Linked DNA regions of Homo sapiens: region 2 is linked to region 1. The links are contacts of gene promoters, found by promoter capture Hi-C in blood cells and fetal thymus (Javierre and others, 2016). All regions are on one chromosome and are shown on one strand. The core of a region is centred on a gene start or on the middle of the fragment in contact, and the rest is flanking DNA. Distances in the headings are between cores, read along the strand shown. Region 1 holds the start of FAIM (Fas apoptotic inhibitory molecule). Region 2 overlaps DNAJC13 (DnaJ heat shock protein family (Hsp40) member C13).

The links. Contacts are between HindIII fragments. The CHiCAGO score rates a contact against its expected background, and 5 or more counts as called.
Region 2: a fragment that was not itself captured here is called in contact with the fragment with the promoter of FAIM in region 1 in 1 of 17 cell types (naive CD8 T cells); the score reaches 5.7 in naive CD8 T cells.

The regions. Positions count from the first base shown.
Region 1 is chr3:138,607,103-138,610,338 of GRCh38, forward strand. It overlaps FAIM (Fas apoptotic inhibitory molecule), which reads left to right and starts at 1,669. Exons shown (of 6, transcript NM_001033031.2): 1 at 1,669-1,835. RefSeq lists a silencer at 1,757-2,216 and an enhancer at 2,317-2,406. The HindIII fragment of the contact is 4,797 bases long and covers 1-3,236 here.
Region 2 is chr3:132,418,345-132,421,384 of GRCh38, forward strand. The region is part of intron 1 of DNAJC13 (DnaJ heat shock protein family (Hsp40) member C13); the gene reads left to right. Among named protein-coding and RNA genes, the nearest start is that of DNAJC13, 2.4 kb to the left of the region's middle. RefSeq lists an enhancer at 1-22. The HindIII fragment of the contact is 597 bases long and covers 1,020-1,616 here.

The sequences.
Region 1 (3,236 bases), core at 419-2,918:
ATTCATTTAATAAATATTTACCAGAGCTAACATGGGCCTGCACGGTACAGATGTGAGACATACAAGAATGAGAGCCAAGCGGCCATGGTCTCTGCCTTCATGGATCTCAGTCTACTGTTAAGTTACACATTAAGCAAAAATTACACAAATTATTGCACACCCTGAAAGGGGCTAGGAAGAAGAATCCCTGGTGCTGCAATTTTTGTGTTTTTTTTGTTTTTGTTTTTGAGACGAAGTATCACTCTGTGGCTCAGGCTGCAGTACAGTGAGGCGATCTCAGTTCGCTGCAACTGCCACCTCCCAAGGTCAAGTGATTCTCCTGCCTCAGCCTCCTGAGTAGCTGGGATTACAGACGCATGCCACCACGCCCGGCTAATTTTTGTATTTTTAGTAGAGCTAGGGTTTCACCACGTTGGCCAGGCTGGTCTCAAACTTCTGACCTCAGGCAATCCGCACCTGGCCTCCCAGAGTGCTGGGATTACAGGTGTAAGCCACTGTGCCCGGCTGTTTTTTTTTTTTTTTTTTTTTGAGACAGAGTCTTGCTCTTCGCCCAGGCTGGAGTGCAGTGGCTCAATCTCAGCTCACTCCAACCTCCACCTCCCAGGTTGAAGCGATTCTCCTGCCTCAGCCTCCCAAGTAGTTGGGACTACAGGCATGCACCACCACGCCCCTCTAAGTTTTATATTTTCAGTAGTGACGGGGTTTTGCCATGCCTGCCTCAGCATCCCAAAGTGCTGGGATTACAGGCGTGAGCCACTGAGCCCGGCTGTTTCTTTTTGTGTGTGTTTTTTTTAATGAAACAGGGTCTCGCTCTGTTGCCCAGGCTGGAGTGTAGTGGTGCAATCACAGCTCTCTGCAGCCTCTACCTCCCTTCAGGGCCCAAGCAATTCTCCCACCTCAGCGTCCCAAGTAGCTAGGATTACAGGCCTGAGCCGCTAATTATTTTCTTTTCTTCTTTCTCATTCTCTCTCTCTCTTTTTTTTTTTTTTTACCATGTTGCCCAGGCTGGTCTTGAACTCCTGGACTCAAGAGATCCGCCACTCTGCCTCCCAAAATGCCGTGATTACAGGTATGAGCCACCACACCCAGCAATGCTGCAAGTCTTATGGGCCAGGATAGTGTAATCTAAGAAATGATATATGAAGAACTCTCACAATAGGGAAGAGGTGAGGAGTGTCCAGGCAGAGAGAAGAGCATTTGCAGAGGCCCTGGGCGAGAAGAAACCTGCATCCTTTAAGGACCTAAATGAAGCCAAGCAGGCAGAGGCTAGATCACACATGGGGGCTTCATGCCCACCTTAAGTAGTTTGGGTCTTTAAAAAAGGAATGAGACTCATAAAGAGGTTTTAAGGAGCGAATGCTATTGCTGCCATGAACAGATATTCCTTCCCCATAGCTGCAGAGCAGGCACAGGGCTGTTTTTGCCCGCCAGTATGTCCCCACCGTCTAGCCCAGAGCGGGGCCAGCGGCCGGCTCCTACCCACACTTGCTGGCAGGAAGACTGGACGCACTGCGGGACATGGTGATGTCCTGGGTTGGGGCTGAGGAAGGCCTATGCGCGGAGGGTGCGGCCTTCGGCTAAGGCAGAGGACCAGGGTTGGGTCCGTGGCGGCGGGAGGGGTGGCCTCCTGCGCTGGTCGCCCCAGGGGACCTGAGAGGCGCGACAAACAGTCGGCGCGTTTGGTACTCGCGCCTGCAGAGCTTTCAACCTCCGCGCCGGCTGCGCCTGTTTCTCGGCCAGGGGAGCAAGGCCACGCGGCCTACGCAGCCGAGTCGGAACCAACCGGTTGTTTGGTGAAACCTACCCCAGAGCCTCCCGCGGCCCACAGAGCACAGGTGAGGCAGCAGACCGGGTGGGGTCGGTGTCGCGCCTGCGCCCGCCCGGACGCCTCGGGCCCGCCCGCTCCGCACCCTGGAAACCCCTGCACTCAGCCCCCCGGCGTCCCCACGCTCTCGGCCCTGCTGCGCCGGCGGCGGCCATCTCTGGGCGGCGGCGGCGGGCGGTGTTTGCGCGGTCGGTGAGACCCGCGCGGGTGAGACGCTGGGTGAGTTCCGGACGCTTCCAGCCGGCCCGCCGGTGATCCCAGACCTCGGGGCGGGACGCGGCTCCCGCTCACCGCCGGCAAAGGTGGAGGTGCGGCGGGGCGCGGGGCGCGGGGCCAGCCCGGGGCGGTGCGGGGGCGTCCCTGCCTAGCGAGGCCCTGCCCCGCGACCTGCCGCACCCTCCTCCGGCCTGTTCGCGACCTCTAAAGATAATACTTCTCACTGTCGAAAACGTGGAACAGAAAGCAAGGAAGCAAGCAAAGCAGCCGTGCCGCTGCTCCCCAGAGACAAGCTGCGTTAACATGAGGGTGTATATTCTTCCAGATGGTTTTTCCTTGTAACATGAGCGGGGCTTGTTTTTGCAGAACCTGCATCATAAAGTGCTGAAACTCTCTCTCTCTCTCTCTCTCTCTCTCTCTCTCTCTCTCTCTCGACTCTCTCTCTCTCGACTCTCTCTCTCTCTCTCTCGACTCTCTCTCTCTCTCTCTCTCTCTCTCGACTGTACATTCCTGTGTGTCAGGTTGACTACCTCATCCATCCCTGACTCTTGGCATGGCTTTGGACTGTGATTTACTAAATGTAGTTTCTCCCTGATGGTGAGCGTACAAGTGGTTTTCAGTTTTTAGTTATTGCAAAAAGTAATTCATTGAGCATCGTTGTATCTGGGTTTTTGAGCGTGATCATTTCTGTAGAAAGAATCGCACAAGATTCGTTCTAAAACAAGATAGAATCCACGGTCTATACCACAAGGCTTCTGGTATAGATTGTGAAATGGCCCTCAGAAAAGTTATTCTCCTTTTTGTACCTCCAGTAAGTAGCATTTGGGAATACTTGGCTCGAGGAGCTTCCTGAGTGATTTTACTGGAGACCCCCCTCACTTCATAAGGGGCCGGCCCGGAGATGAAGATGTCAACACTTGAGTGTGACTTGCATTATTGGCTGGCCCTACCTGGGGGCCTTTGCTGAAAAGGGAACCATGAGCATCTTAGTAACTACTATCATCTAGTAATTTTTAAACTGACTTCGGTTTATCTTGAACGAACCATTTCAGTCCCCAGTAAGAATAAACCTAAGTTAAGGCAAAATTCAGGTGGATTAGATGAACAGTGGCAACGTGTTGGTGTTTAAGTCATGCTCTGAAACTTAGGTGTTGGGTTGCTAGGGAAGGGATTTTAAAAGATTGATGGGTACGTA
Region 2 (3,040 bases), core at 68-2,567, 6.2 Mb before region 1:
TTTATCTTTGAATGTGGCCTTTGGAGTGGGTAAAGTAGGACTTAGACGCTCAGTGAAGTGGCTGTTAATCACTTGATACTTAACTATGTTTAAGAGTGCCTTCCCTTAAATTTTCTCCTTTTGTAGCGTGTTCCGTTAACCACGTTTGTCTTAAGATTGTTTCCTGTGTCCGTTGCTTAGAGGGGGGAAAAAAGTAAAGATTTCACCCTAATGTGGCGGTGGTCTCCCAAAGTAATTATTTCTCATTTTCCCTCTGCTTTTCCCTTTTACGTTATTCTGATTTCCCTCAAAAAGGAGGTTCTGTACCTGATGCTGTTGCGTCCTCTATGAAGGGCTTTATAGTGTACAGTTATGTTGAGCCTTTTGTAATACAGTGTCTTGGGGAAAAAAGTAGAAGTTCAGAACCTGCCCCCAGTAATTCTTTCTTACTATATTTTCTTTCTCAGTTTATGGACTTGATAGGTTTCTAGGTTTGAAACTACTGCCTGCAGGGAAAATTACAGTGATAAGGTTTTATAATATATTACCAGTACTTTGAGTTTATGGGAGTATGAAACAGAATTTGCCTTAAAAAAATAAATTTATAGAAACCACTTGTCAGAAATTCGGTATCCAGAACACAGTTCTTTGATTTTTGGAAAGTACTTTATTGGCTTATCTATCATATAACGTAAAACCTTGTTCACATTTTGTGTAATGTGAAACGCTTTTTAAGCTACTATATCTCAGACTTGGCTTGTGCTGTTAGTATCACAATGCATTCAGGCAACACACGTCCTTGTGTAGAAATTATTACATTATACTCCTTGTTTGAAAACAGGAAGTAGAACATATTAAGGGAGGAAAAGAGGAGTCAGAGGATTATTAAGAAATAAGAATGTAAAGAACCTTAAGGCTAGAGTTCAGTTCATGGAAAATATCAGCATTTGTATTCCACTGAGAGGCAATGAATATTCCTCTTTTTCTAAAGTGGTAGTAATAAATAGTCTAAAATATATTAATGTTATATATTGTTAACAAGCTTAGTTGTAAACAAAATACTTAAGCTAAAAAATAAAATATTAATAAGTGAATGAATTGTTTGGAATAATTTAACTTTATCCACAAATAAATAGAAGATGGTTGCCTTGCCCAGGTGGACTGTAACAATACTGGCTTTATTAAATTTGTTAAAAGGTTGATAGTGGAGTCCGGTTCTCAATAGGTCCCAAATTAGGGTTGAAATTGAAAAGATGTGTTTTAACTAATTTGGCTTCATTCCTCAACCAGTTCTGTTTACACAGGTGAATATGAGGTTTCTGCTACACATACCTTTCCCCTGCTTCTGATTGAGGTACTTTAAATTAGTAATTGAAACAAGGCTGTGCAGATAAACTGCAGCACAAATTTGGTTGCTACAAATAGGTTTTGGCCTAAATGTTCACTGTAAAACATGGCAGTAGTTAAAGGGGAGTTATTAATATTTTGAAAGAGTTCCTTGAGTCAGTGTTTCTCAACTTTATTAGACCCAATAAAGGCTCCCTTTTTATAAAAAATAATTAGTAACACCTTCTTTGCTATCTTTAGTTTATAAATAATGTAACTACCTCTGGCTTTGGCCCTGAGACAAAAAAAGAAGCTTTGCTCTCACTTCTGCAACAAAAAAAGACCTACACTACAAATTCATGACTTTTTTGAAATCTATTAAAGAGCTGAGTCCACAGAGCAAAACCACTGGCTGAAAATTTGAGAGACAGTGCTTACAGAGAGTAGATGTCAATTTCTGTTTACCGTCTTCAGACACAACTGGACAAAAAGCATGATGAAAGCTGAATGCACAATCTTGCAAACTCTTATCCACAAACCTCCCTGGGTCTACTAGAAAAGACTGGAAAGAACCCTGGGTGAGTCTGCTGTGCAGATTGAGAGGGAGAGGAACAGCAACAGAACTTTTAAGAGGGTCAAGAAACTGCTGTGATTCTTCCCCTCTGCCTCTTCTATGGAAAAAAGCTTTAATCTCTGGGGAGAAGGGTATCTCTGTTGGCCCCATTGGTGAACATTCAGGGGGTAGATGAGAAGTGGGAGAGAATCTTATGCCTGGAGGAGGGGCCCTGAGCCCAAAACTGCAGTCGGGAGTGGTCAACAGAACCGAGAGTGCTGCCCTCCTGAGATTCAGGAACACAGTGTTTGACTTAGACTTAATCAGAACATCAGACTGTATCCCCCACCCCCAACCCCCTGCCACCAAGCTAAGAAGCTTTCAGTAACAAGTAACCCACAAAATACTACTAGGAAAGGAACAAGATTATGCAAAGAGGCACAACACAAAGAATCAAACAGGCATTGCTCTAGTAAACCATCGCCCACCAGAGAGACAAACTGTTCTGCAGATTCATGAAGGCTGTAATACACTGAGGATAACTATGGCAAAAACAAATCATAAACTAAGTCCAACTCCTAACCAGATTAACACAAACCCTTCACCAAAGGCCTCACAAAGAACAGGCGTGCTCATTTCCAGTCATAAAAATTACCTCAATCTCTACTCCTACACAACATGTCCAGCTTTTAACCAAAAATTATGAGGCCCATGAAAAAAACTCCCAAGAGAAAGAGCAGTCATCATTATACATTTTTTAAAAAGATAGGAGCTTAAAAAGAACTGTTTTGTACATGTTAAATACTATAATAATGACATTTTGCCTTGAAAAAGTTTGAGCAAACAATGCAGTGAGCATTGGATGGAGTTATAGTTTCTGAATTACTGTGAAGTAGTAGAAGGAAAAAAAGTTATAAGATGGAGTGGAAAATTAGTAACATATATGTGAATGTATGTGGTTCATTGACCACCTGAAGTGTGTGTGTGTATTTTGTGAATTCCTGCATGACTCAGTTGGGTACAATTTTCTGCGTTCACTTAGTGTTGGGACAGAATCACTATAAGCAAATGTGACATTTTCATTATGCTCAAATTGTTCAGTAATACACCAATCCTGTTAAAATTCACATGATCAAGAAAGCATTATAGCAGAATTGACTATATGCATTTCAATATGTAAAT